2 separate regions of the Homo sapiens genome follow, and region 2 is linked to region 1. The links are contacts of gene promoters, found by promoter capture Hi-C in blood cells and fetal thymus (Javierre and others, 2016). All regions are on one chromosome and are shown on one strand. Each heading gives the region's core, a stretch centred on a gene start or on the middle of the fragment in contact. The rest is flanking DNA. Distances are from core to core; before and after follow the strand shown.

Region 1 (6,407 bases), core at 1,879-4,378:
ATTTATACATCATCTGGGAGACAGACACAGTTGATATGAAATCATACAAGTGCTTTATGAAAAGGAGGACTGTGCCTATCTATACAGGTTCCATTACGTGTCATGTTTCCTCTTCACAAAACATTGAAGAAAGCTCACAATCCCAGAACTGTCAATAACAGTATGAATAGTGACAGATGCCAGAAGGAATAAAATCTCTCAGTATAACAACAGCAGAAACCTTGATCCAATTGGCTGCTAGAGCCTCCCCTTTGTTTCACCCTGGGCAGCACCTGCCAGGTGATGGCCACGCTGCCAAGATGACTCCCAAGTGCAGCCAGGTGTAGAAAGCACTGGATATGACCGCTGCTCTCCACACCACACGTCATCATCGCTTTACATATGTCATCCATCTTGGAAGCATTTTGTGCTGTCTTCCTTGACAACAGCAACTGGATGTGTATTAATCCAATTTCATGAGCTTGTCATCCTGGTGTTTATCATGCCAACTAATTTTTAGCCTAAAAAGCCTGAGAAATTCTAACAAAATGCAATGCCTTTCTTGGTACCTAGCCCATTTCTAAAATGGCTTTATACAAATACTAACATTTCTCTACTTCCCAACCTTCAATTTATCCAATGCGGAAGACTTTTAACAAAGCACCACCAACCAACAGTTTAAGAAACATCACTTTGGATTTATAAGCAAATGCAGCTATCAATGGACTTTCAGAACCTAACTTCTGTAACTTAATTCCCAATGTGTTCATTAATGCATATACTTAGTTTGTAATATAATGTCTCCAAACAAAAGAAATGCTAAATTCGGTGGGTTCATTTATTTTAAAGAGACAAGGTCTTGCTCTATCGCCCAGGCTGGGAGTGAAAGTGGCACAATCATAGCTCATTGCAGCCTCAAACTCCTGGGCTCAAGGGATCCTCCCACCTCAGCCTCCCAAGTAGTAAGGACTACAGGCACATGCCACCATGTCTGACTAATTTATATACATATATAATATGTATATGTATAATATATATACATATATAATATGTATATGTATAATATATATACATATATATTATATATATTATATACATATATACTATACATATACTATATATATTATATATATATTATATATGTATATATACATATATATACATATATAATATATATAATTTTTTTAAGAGATGGGATCTCATTATGTTGTCCAGTCTGGTCTAGAACTCCTGGCCTCAAGCGATCCCCCGCTTTGGCCTCCCAAAATAGAGATGACAGGCATGAGCCACTGTCCCCGACCTAAATGAGGTTTTTTAACAGAAAAAAAAAATGTATTAATGAAGTACCTGACTCATTACTTTTTTCATTGACATTACATTTAACTTCCAACAAAGTTCCCTCCCCAACTTTTTCTCTATTTTTTTATTTTAACCAATTGTCAATATCCAAATTATAAAAGTGATAATTATCTTGACAGACTGTAAAAATATGAGTTTCACATTAAACTTACTTGTTCTTTATTTGGAAGAAAGCACTGGTGAGAAATCCAAGCAAAGTGAGCTAGTTTTAGTTTATCTTCCCAGGAAGTTGTCTTGCTTTTAAGCTTAAGGGAAATGCCAGAATAAACAGCAGCCATGGCTAGGCTTTATCTAAAATTTAAAAACAATGGGAAAAAAAATACTATAACAATGTCAGACTGAGCAGGCACCAGAAAACCAACAGTATTGCAGTACTGTATCTTGTTTACCTAATATGTATTCTTTTAAAAGTTTTTAATGAATCAACAGATTTGTCGGGGTAAATCTACATACAAGATGCTTGACTCCAGAATTTTCTGGGGGAAATTCAGACAAAAGCAAGCAAAAGATGGACTGCACACACAGAAGATGGACTATATGTATTCCAGCTATGATCAAACATCACTTCCACAAAGGTGAGTGTTCAGGAATTCAACAAGGCCAAAATCAGTGATTACATTACTTGTGGAAAGAGTCATTCATACATGGTTTCAAATTGAAAGAGGAAAAGATACATAAGCAATATCCGGAGAAAGTAATATGTCTCCAAGTGAAAAAGAAAACCCCAAAGGAATACAGTTATTTCAGCTGCAACAGTAACCTTCCACTAACACTTTTATTCAGTCGTGTATAAATTTACAACGCACATACACTTCAAAAAAGACTCTACAAGAGATACTTGCACAAGGAAAAGACTAAAAATAGAAAACAAAAAACCATGAAATCTCGGGGGTAGCAAACATACCAAACACCTACAGTTACTATTAAACTGGGTAAACTTGGCTTTGAGTTTCCTAAAAGTTATAGTAAAAAGGAACGTTAAGACGTTTTCATTTTAGAAATTAAGTTATCCTTCACTCTACTGCAGAGAACAAGAACGTCAAGTGCTGTCAGTTTTCCTATTTTGTCAAAATGTCCAAAACGAATTCAACGATGCCTGACTTTCTAAGTTCAATACCATAGAACCGCCATCGCGACAGCTACAAAGTGCATAACAGGTGTTTGCTGAACTGGCTACAAAGACAACCGAGATGCTCTCCCCGGCTCCGCCAGAGTTCGGCTCTCCGGGCCTCCAACCGCCCTTACCGGGCAATGCGAAGTCCAGGGCGGACAGCACAGCCCTGCCAGCACTCCCTGCCCAGCAGAAAGAGACCAAGCAACAAGAACCAGGGGAGAGCAGCTAGGAGCCAGGAGGGAGTTCGCCTTCGCGAATGGAGCGTGCCGAAGCCGCTCCAGCCCAGAGTCTGCTGGCGGCACCGGAACTGGGCAGGGTTGGGGGGCCCCCCATCTGGGCCCGGCCTTAGGTAGGGGGATCTCCTCTGGACCAGCCCCGGGTGGGGGGACTCACCTCGGGACCTGGCTGCCCGCAGGGGCTGACCGCAGGTGGGGGACTCACCTCGGGATCCGGCCCGGTAGGGGGCTCAGCTCGAGACAGCTCCGGGTAGACAGGGGAGGACGGCGGCAGCGGCGGCGGCTGCTGTCCCGGTGCGGCGGAGGCCGCTGTACGGGTCCCGCGTCCCCACCACGTGGGACCGGTACCCGCGCTCCTTCCGCCGGACGCCGGCGGCGCAGCGGGGAGGGGCTGCACGCACGCCAGGCGTCGCCAGCCGAGCGCCGAGGCGCCTCGCCCATTGGCGGAGACGGTTGCGCGTTGGAGGCCCGAGCGGCCCAGCCCGCGGCCCGCTCCGTGTCAGTCAGTCATGGAGCGGCCGCCCAGAGCGGCGGCGGGGGCGGCGGGGCGCGGGGCGCGGGGGCCCAGCTGAGCCGGCCGTCGGAGTGAGACCCTGCGGCAGAGACGACGGAGGCGGAAGCAACCCGATCCCGGAGGCGGCGGCGGCGGGGGGAGCCGGAGCCGCCTGGGATGTTCAGTGAGTGCCGGGAGCACGGGCGGGGAGGGCCGGGAGGGTCGCGAGGCGCGCGCGCGCGCGGGCGGGCGGGGGCCGGGGCGGTGGGGCCTCGGCGGGGCGCGCCTTGGCTCCCGCCGGCGGGCGGTGGGGGTGGGGCGCGGGAGGCGGGGCTGGGGGGCGGCGGGCGGCTCTGCGCGGGCGCGACGGCCGCGCCTCCGCCCTCGGCCTCCCGAGTCCCGGGCTGCGGCCGGCGGCGTGGCCTGCAGTCGGCGGCTACACCTGGACTGGCGTCGCGTTCCTGCGCAGGGGTGGGTCCTGCGGGTTGGATGCCGGGCTCGGGGAGGAGGTGGCGGGCGCCCGCGGGGAAGGTATCCCAGTGCCCGACAGCCAAGCAGGGAGCACGGCTCCACAGCTCCTTTGCATGTAGGGGAAAAGGAAATGTCTTTGCGGCGAAGTCGGGATTCAACTTTGCACATGGTGATCGTGCGTGGGTGGGTGTGGAGTCGATCTCCGCGTGTGACACGGGGGAGCCAGAGTTAGACTAGCTGCTGCAGGAGAGTGCTTACCTGCAAGGGTGTCTCTCGGGGCTCGTTGCCTCATGACAGCAAGGTAAGGTTGGTGCGCCCATGGTGTGGGACGGGTTCACCACCTCCAGCTCGCGAAGCTGCCAGGCTTTTGAAAATGTATTCGATAAGGCGTTGGTCCGAAGTGAGTGGATGGTTAGAAACAGTGGTGTCATTTTAGACTTAGCGGAAGTGGAGTGCAGGAACGCTACATGCAGTTCTCCCATCAGTTGTGAAAGTCGTTGTAATGCGGATCTCGCAGTCTTTGTGGTTCTGGGATCAGAAGGTAAGTGCCAGTCCCATGCAGTGTCTGTCTTAAATTACTGTACCTAAACTGACCTTGCAGATTGGAATCTCGGAATGGTGACTCCTGCTAACAAGCAGTTGGGAGCTGTGCTGAGAGGAACATTAAGTGCGGAGCGTGTCTTATATCAGGCGATTCAAGTGTGCCAACACCTGAGTTGGGGATGTAGGGGAGGACACGGAGGCTGTGCCCCAGTTCCTGGTCACAGCTCTACTTGGAAGGGGGAGTAGGAAAGGGAGTTTTGTGCTTAATAGGTTAAATGCATCTGGCCACATCTTTAAACTTTGGAACAGCATAATGTAGTGGATAGAGCTTGGTGACAGTAGACCTAGGATGGAAACCATGTAGCCATCTGCATAACCTCTCTGAACTGTAGTTTCCTCATCTATAAAATGCGATGATAAGGAATAACTTAAACGTGGATTTTTTTTTATCTTTAAGAGACAGGGTGCCTCTATGTTGCCCAGGCCTGGGCTCAAGCAGTCCTCCCGCCTCAGCCTCCCAAAAAACGACCTTTTTAAAGGTACCCAGAAAAAGAATGATGTGTATGAAAATAGCTAAATGTTAGCTATTATCGTTTCCTTTTTGGCAAAATACCTTCTAGGTTCCCTGTAGTCCTAAGTTTTTGCGTTAAATGGAATATATGCTAATTTTTTAATGAATCGTAAATTCTTCCTGCCTTAAAAATCAGCGCTAAGCTAGAAAATTAAAAGGTGGGCTTGTTTTGAGTATTTTTCTTTGTCATCAACAACAAATTAAATTAGTGTATCTTGGAATAGTTTTGTTGCTCCTGCCTGTAAATGTGAGGCTTATGTGAGCTTCTGTCACTGTGAAACTAGGTAAAGGCCTCACTTAACTACTCAGTAACTGGTTTTTGGTTTTGCAAGCAATATATTAGCACCTGTGAAGGACATCTCTGGGGAAAGAAAGGGGGTTTTGTTTCTGCTAATTTGTTTTGCTGGAAGGGAGCTCTAGGGGTCATCTGTTAAACCAGTATTACTCAGTGGACAGTACTAGAAGTCACGTTTCCAGCCTGTCTTGTATGTGACTGGTGGCTTCTCAGGTAGTAAGTGTTCTGATCATTCTCTCAGCAAGCTTCTAGTAAGCATTCATTGTTGTGCTCCCTCAGGAAGCCCCTGGTCACATGTAGAATCCTTTGAGCAGCAAGATGCTGTAGAAGGTGAGAGCTCAGACCCTTCAGCCAGGTGTCCTGAGTTCCCATCCTGGCACTGTGTAACTTCTTTGCGCCTCAGCTTTCCCATCTGAAGAACGTTACCTACCTCATAGGTTTGTTGTGAGCTTAAAGAAGGCAGTCTATGTAAAGCACTTAATTTTAAATGCTTTAAGTGTCTTAGCGTCGAGTATGCTCAGTGTTAAGTATTCGTAGTGGTAGTGTATGAAACAGACAAGAATAGGGTAAGTTCTGTGACAGATTTGTTCCTGGGTTCGTGTGTGGAAGGGATTGTGATCAAGGAAGCTTTTGGGAGGAAGACATGGCTAAGCTGAGCTGCGAAGTGCGGGTGGGATTTAGCCAAACCAGGTTGTAGTGCCAGTGTGGCAGTGCCTCCAACTACTGGAGGGCCCCTGAGGGGAGAAGGTGGAGTGGGACCCACCAGTAGAGTAAGAAGAACCAAGGATTGGTCCAGTGAGGTAAACAGGCAGATTAGAGCAACCTGGAAATGACACAGTAGACACTCAATTTTTCTATCCTTCACACTAGTGGAGGCAGTAGAAAGTATTTTGTTTTGTTTTGTTTTGTTTTTGGAGACGGAGTTCCACTCTTGTTGCCCAGGCTGGAGTGCAATGGCGTGATCTTGGCTCACTGCAACCTCCGCCTTCCGGGTTCAAGCGATTCTCCTGCCTCAGCCTCCCCAGTACCTGGGACTACAGGCATGCACCACCATGCCTGGCTAATTTTTGTATTAGTGGAGATGGGATTTCACCATGTTGACCAGGCTGGTCTTGAACTCCTGACCTCGGGTGATCCACCCACCTCAGCCTCCCAAAGTGCTGAGATTACAGGCCCGAGCCACCGTGCCCGGCGGCAGTAAATGTTTTTAAGCTTAGCAGAGATAACATCAGATTAGCTCCTTGGAAAGATTGTGCCTATAGTAGTATAGTATTATGTTTAAAGTAGGGCCAGGTGTGGTGGCTCATGCCGATAATCCCAGCACTTTCGGAGGATCACTTGAGCAC
Region 2 (6,407 bases), core at 2,627-5,126, 520 kb before region 1:
GTGCTCCAGGCAACCCAGGTAGTGCACCTTAAATAGGAAAGAGTTCAACAAGTCACACAAAGTTACAGACACCTGCATGCCGGGTGCACCAGCCTCGTCCTGAGGAGTTGAGAATGGTGGCCCTGGCTGGGAATTCTCTAAGTTGCTCTGCCACTGGGAAAATAGATTCCTTAGGGAAGCAAAGAAAACGATGGATTCCTTTGTGCTCAGAAGACAGCAGGCTTCCATCCAGAAAACTGCACAGTCAGGGCCAAGCAGTCAAAGCCCCCATTCTGAACGCCAAATCCCTGGGTGGGAAAAGGAGTGTGTGTCTGTGCCTCCCGCCATCCTAGAAGGCCAAGGAGAGGCTGAATGTCGCAGCGCATTCTCTAATGAGGAGCCAGGCACTCCAACTGCTCCACAAAGGTGTCTTAGACAGAATTATAAGTAGAGCTTAAGGTCTAAAAACAAACAAACAAAACAAAAATGCTCTACCAAAGAGATGAGACTTTCCTTTCAGAATCAAGTCACACATCCCTCCCCAATTTCCAACTCCAACTCTAACAGAGACATTCACTTCTCTGCAAAGGTTGCGGACAAAAACAAAGCGGGCAGAAAGAGGAAGTGGAAGGAGTTGTTGTACTATGTCTTTTTAAAGCAGCTGTTGGAAACCGTTTCAAAGGTTGAAAAAGGATTTTTGTTTTATCCAAATATAAGTTTCTGAGAAGAAATATGACACCTTGGGTGATGTATGAAGTCATGCCTTTGATTCCAAGCCTGTCAAGCCTCTTCTGAGTGTTACATCTCAGGCTTCCTATGGTGAGGTAAAGAGGGAAGCTTCGGTACAGAAAAACGGCAGCACACGGAGGTAGGCAGCTTTGCAGTCACCAAGCAGGCGATGGCTCTCCTGGCCCCAGGGCGGAGCCAGTGCATGTCTTTTAAGCCACTCATGGGCTCCGCATCCAGGAATGGAGAGCACCCTCCTAGGTCTCTGCCTCAGCAGCCCCACAAGCCCACCCAGCCATCCTCACCCTGGGGTCCATCATACTGTGTGGCTGTCAACCTCTATTATGGTATAATTAAGAAAGACACCAACGGTGTTGAGAAGCGTTTCTGAGAATTAAATCAAGAGTGAGAAGCCCTCAGAGGCACCCCATGTGTCAAGATCAATTGATCTGATGGCCACCGGAGAAGCCCTGCTGAAACAATTCGGCAAATCTGCCCAGAGACGGCTCTGCCAGTCTCTGGAGACAGAACTCTTAAAGAGGCAGGAAAGACCAGAGGGAGGTTTTGCAGTTATTCACGCCATGCTATTCTAAAAGTGAGGAGGGCTTGGCTGTAATTTCCCACTCTGGACATTGAATGATTCAATGTATCTGTTTATATTTACATGGCTGAGGCATAAAACAACAAAACAAAAAGCCCACTCCCACCTCATTAAGCCCACCTAGGTAACACTGTGGCAGGACGCACACAAACCAATCAGGCGGTTTTTAAAAACCCTCAAAATCTAAGGTCCCTCAACCGCTTGTTGCACTCAATACATGCCCCTGTCTACAGTGGCTCATCCTAGAATCACTACTACAGAGAAGGACTATGTTTAGGCAGAAATCTTGCTGCCCTCAACGCCAGACCTAAGAATCACTGCAATAATAGGATGCTCAAACCACCAAGCTATTGGCAGCCTGTAAGAGAAACACCCTATAAAACAGCAAGCAGGCAGCAACCATCACCCACCCTCCAGGGATGTTCCTGAACCCAGTGCTCAACCACACAAGTCCAATCTAGGTGGCCTCGCAATGTCCTCCCACCCGCTCCAGGAGAGACAAGGTCAAGACCATAAAATGACTTCAGGAGCCATAAAAGCAGAAGCAGCACCTTCTGAAATCAAGCAATCAAGAATTAAACAAGTAGGCTAGGCTCAGTGGCTCACGCCTGTAATCTCAGCACTTTGGGAGGCTGAGGCAGGTGGACTGCCTGAGCCCAGGAGTTCGAGACCAGCCTGGGCAATATGGAGAAACGCCGTCTCTACAAAAAATGCAAAAATTAGCTGGGCGTGGTGGTACGTGCCTGTGGTCCCAGCTAGTCAGATGGCTGAGGCAGGAGAATCATTTGAGCCCAGGAGGTCAAGGCTGCAATGAGCTGTGATCACTCCAGCCTGGGTGACAGGGCGAGGCCCTGTTTAAAAAAAAGGTGGGGAGGAGTGGGGCTGGGTATGGTGGCTTATGCCTGTAATCCCAACACTTTGGGAGGGTGAGGTGGGTGGATCTCTTGGGCCCAGGAGTTTGAGACCAGCCTGGGCAATAGAGCGAAACCCTGTCTCTACTAAAAATACAAAAATTAGCTGGGCATAGTGGTGCACACCTGTAGTCCCAGCTACTCGGAAGGCTGAGGTGGGAGGATCACCTGAGCCCAGGGACATCAAGGCTGCAGTGAGCTGTGATCACACCACTGCACTCCAGCCTGGGCAACAAACCTTGTCTCAAAAACAAAAATAGAAAGAAAGAAAAAAAAAGAAAACAAAACCCCTTGAAAAGGCTGACCCACACCCTGGAGTTAACTCCGGAAGGCGAGTGAGGGACCGCTAGAAGCAAGGCGTGGAGCCGCCTCTGCAGCAAGGACAGAGAGCACTTGTGTTAAACGAGGGCTTTCCAGGGCTGTGGGACCTGTTGGATGCACCCAGGTTACCTGTGACTTGCAGATTTAGAAAAGGAGTCCACAGTGAGGAAGGGACTGTGCTGAACTACTCCAGCCCTGAAAACGCCCCCTTTCCCTATCAGGTTTCTGGCTTCAGCTCTAGGAGGAAAATAACGCAGTGCCACAGGGCTCTCCCTCTGAGTGCACTGTGCACGCCCCGAGCTGGCCACTGATCTGGTTGTGCCGGTGGGCAGCCCTTCACCTAAAGTCCACCTCGTGGCTCTCAGCCACGCAGCGCCACTGTCTTTTCAGATTTGAAGCTTTAAAGCGGGATGGGGAAGAGTGTGGGCAAGTGGGAGGCATGTGTCCAGTGGGGCTGGACACACACACAGGTATGTAAGAGGGCTGCACCTGTATGTAATAATACAGTGACTATCCTCGAGGTTGCTGAGTGATCATAGTTTAGGAAACTAACTAAACAGGGACAGTGTCTGGGGACAGAGCGTTTGCCCTGAAGGTGTGGACGTGTGCTAGGAGCATCTACCACTGCCAACCTCCAACAAGCAATCATGCTTAGAAATAGCAGCTAAAGACGAGCTCTCTTCATGAAGCCTGCAATGCCTTCCAGGCTGGGAGCCAGAGGTGACCCACAGGCAGAGCTGAGGCCCTCACTCAGGAGACAGAAGCTCTCCTTCAACGGGAAGAGGGCAACAGGGCAGGAAGGAGGGACTCTTGGAGGAGGAAGGCAGCTTCTCTCAACAGTGACTGTTTAGCCTCAACCACTGCAGGGGAATGTGGCCACACCACTAGCCAGCCACTGTTCGCAGAATCGAAGAGTAGGCCAGGAGTGGCCCTGGCCTGAGATTATTTTACAACAGAGAAGAAAAGAAAAGCCCCCGCGGGACCAGGAAAGGAGAACCAGTGGCCAAGCCAGGCACACGGCAGAGCAGGCCATGCTTTCAAGGGAGAGGCGACACCAGTCTCAGCCCACAGCAGTCCCGTGGCAGGGGCTCTAGGAATGTTGGCCAAGAGTCAAGGACAGCAAAGTGAATATAGGCAAACCCACACCTTAACCCCAAAGTAGGCGGCTTTCAGCTAGAAGGTTTGAACACAATGAATGTTGAATAAAATGAAGTCTTTATAATTCACGGTCGATCTTGGAAACTAGAAAATGCCAGAGGAAAGGGTTTCAGTTCATCAGTCCAGGGACAACATCTTGGAAGGAACACAAAGGTAATTCCTCCAAATTGAGGATGCTGTCAAATCAGAGAGCATTCTTTTGAGAATCATGGTCTGAAATCTCCCCCAGCTTGGCACTGCCCACCCCTCATCCCCAACATCTCACCAGCTGGCCAGATATGCAGACACTGCCTCCTGTTTCTCTAACTCTGGCCCCTCCTTCCCAATTCACCCTGCCACAGCTGAAGGCCTGCTTCCCTTCTCACCTGGGCTCTAGTGGCCCACCTGCCTCCTGTCTGTCCCCTGCCACGACTCCCACACAGTGCGGCCAGCGGGACAGACACCGAGATCTGACAGTGCAGGCGGTAGCCAGCTCTGGACTGCAGCATACAGGACCCTGCGTGGTTCTTACCTAACCTCCTCACAGGTCACGTTTCCAGCATAACGCCTCCCCGCCAACACGTGGGGCCGCTCTGAGGTGCGTGCAGCCCCTGGCATGCCATTTCACTTACATGCACGACACCCACCCTATGCCCTCTCTCCTTCCCACCCCTCCCCCTGCAACCTGGGCCATCCCTCCAGGTTAGTCCCAATGCCGTTTCATTAATGCATCTTACTATACTAATTTGTTTCCTTTTCCTAAATGCCCCAGCTCCCTGAGAGCCGAGTTTGCTCCTTTCTCATCTAATACTGAGTGTGCAGTGTATGGTTGGTATAAGGTGGCTGAGTTGTAAATGAACACAGGAGTGCTTCCCAAGCAGGCTTTTCTGAGCCCACACCTGCTTCACTCCAACCGGGTCAGGAAGGGAGGCAGGCAGTGGCCTCCGATCAACACCTCCAGAGGAAATGAAAATACTGTCCATATTAAGGAAATAACCAGAAATGTGATTTAGCTATTAACAAAAAAACAAAACTGAAAGAGGAAGAGGGGTGACCAGGCACACATAAGACATGAATAGCTGCGAACAAGTTCTCAGACCTGGTGCGGGAGAGAAGGCGCGGGACTCCTCCCAAAGCTTCCTCCTCCAGGGCTCCCTAACGAGATACATGAAAAGGGAGGGGAAAAATAACTACAGTCTTTTAGCTTATCAATTTCTCACATCCAACTCCAAACAGCAGAAATACAAAGACTGTCTTTTTCACTCCTAACCCAGGAGGAAGAAGGAAAAGTGCTTATTTTTAGCCAAGCCAAAAAACATAAGCAGCTACAGATTAATAAGAAGCAGAGAGAAAAAAGAACCCTCACAAGAAAGCAGAACCTCAAGGAACACCAGAAGCAGGTCCACTACAGCCCAAAGCAGCCTGGACAAGGAGTGGACCAACGTCTTCTCTCTTAATCACAGGATAATAAAAATGCAAGCGGCGAGCATCTTTGAAAGGCACACTTCCCAGAGGGGCTGGGCAGGCAGGCAAGCAAGCCGAAATGCTACCTCTCATTTCTTTACAATTAAGTAATTACAGGGACCTTGTTTCAAACATGGTATTTCCAAGTCCAGATGGAACCACTGCCACCAAGAAGACAGGTGACGTTCTGGGCCTGCCTGACGTCTGGGCTTGCCTGACGTCCTGCTGTGCTGCATCAGGCACCACACGGGGCAAGGCCCCCATTGGCACTATGCCAAGGTGGGTGGCTTTCAACCAACTAGCTGTGGATAAGAATCTCAAAAGGCAAAAGAAAACCGTGTAAATGTCTAAGCCCCGACCTCAGCGGAGGAATCCCCAGAGAACCACCAAGTTGGCTGCATTCTCTAAAAGTCTGTATTTATTACAACCATCCCTACAGTATGTGATAACAACAAAAACAGAGGGAAATGGGGGACTGGCTTCAAACACCAGACACCTAAAAGGGTTCCTTTGGGGGAGCTTCCCTTGGGGGAAGACAGGATTTCCAGGACAAACCCCCTCAGAAGGCCCAGGCCCGACTGCCAGAGTCTGAGGCCTGGCCAGGAAACCCCACAAACTTAGGGGTCAGGGGAGCTGACAGTGCAGATTTCTGAGACGCTCACTGAGAAATTCAGATTCGGCCAGTCTGCACTGGAACCTGCCTGCTAACAAGCAACACAGGGGGCGATCTGAGAATGGGGTTGGGGAGGGGGTGCCAAGGACAGTCTTGGTACTGAGGCAGGAGGGGCCCACAGGCACATGGGTCGCTCTAAGTGTAACGGGATGAGTGAGAGCCTGCAGATGCTGCAGCAGAAAACAGATGACGCAGCTCTGGAGTGGCCATCGGGAGACCCTTGGGATGCTCCGCCGGGCCTCTCACCTTGCTTGGTTTGTAGGTTACCAAGCAAGAGAGGAGCCTGACATCACTACACATCTCACCTCAAGGCCTGCGGGGAGATCACTGAAGGCTGCCAAAGATAAACTCATCCTTCCCACAAGAAGCTTAGAAGCCACTGTATCAGCAACACCATAACCTCTGCCCCAAATCAACCACCTACTCCCAGGCTTTTTAATACTTTATAGTTGCTCTTCAAATCCCTTAGTCTTTAATTAATCCTCACCCCACATAAGAACACTGGCACAAGGTTAGTGGTACTTACTTTGAAGTAAGCATCACAAGAAGAAAAATAACATCCGAGATTTGCTTTAAAACACACCACTACCACCCC

What was found. Contacts are between HindIII fragments. The CHiCAGO score rates a contact against its expected background, and 5 or more counts as called.
Region 2: a contact is called between a fragment that was not itself captured here and the fragment with the promoter of TAF5L in region 1, in 1 of 17 cell types (total B cells). The highest score is 5.8, in total B cells.

What each region holds. Positions count from the first base shown.
Region 1 is chr1:229,622,843-229,629,249 of GRCh38, reverse strand. TAF5L (TATA-box binding protein associated factor 5 like) reads left to right here and starts at 3,128. Exons shown (of 5, transcript NM_014409.4): 1 at 3,128-3,365. URB2 (URB2 ribosome biogenesis homolog) reads right to left here and starts at 3,003. Exons shown (of 10, transcript NM_014777.4): 1 at 2,894-3,003; 2 at 1,491-1,629. The coding sequence starts at 1,616. RefSeq lists enhancers at 2,430-2,509, 4,170-4,219, 5,064-5,614 and silencers at 2,700-3,399, 3,490-3,679. The HindIII fragment of the contact is 3,723 bases long and covers 1,586-5,308 here.
Region 2 is chr1:230,144,666-230,151,072 of GRCh38, reverse strand. The region is part of intron 1 of GALNT2 (polypeptide N-acetylgalactosaminyltransferase 2); the gene reads right to left. Among named protein-coding and RNA genes, the nearest start is that of GALNT2, 81 kb to the right of the region's middle. RefSeq lists an enhancer at 622-851. The HindIII fragment of the contact is 1,875 bases long and covers 2,939-4,813 here.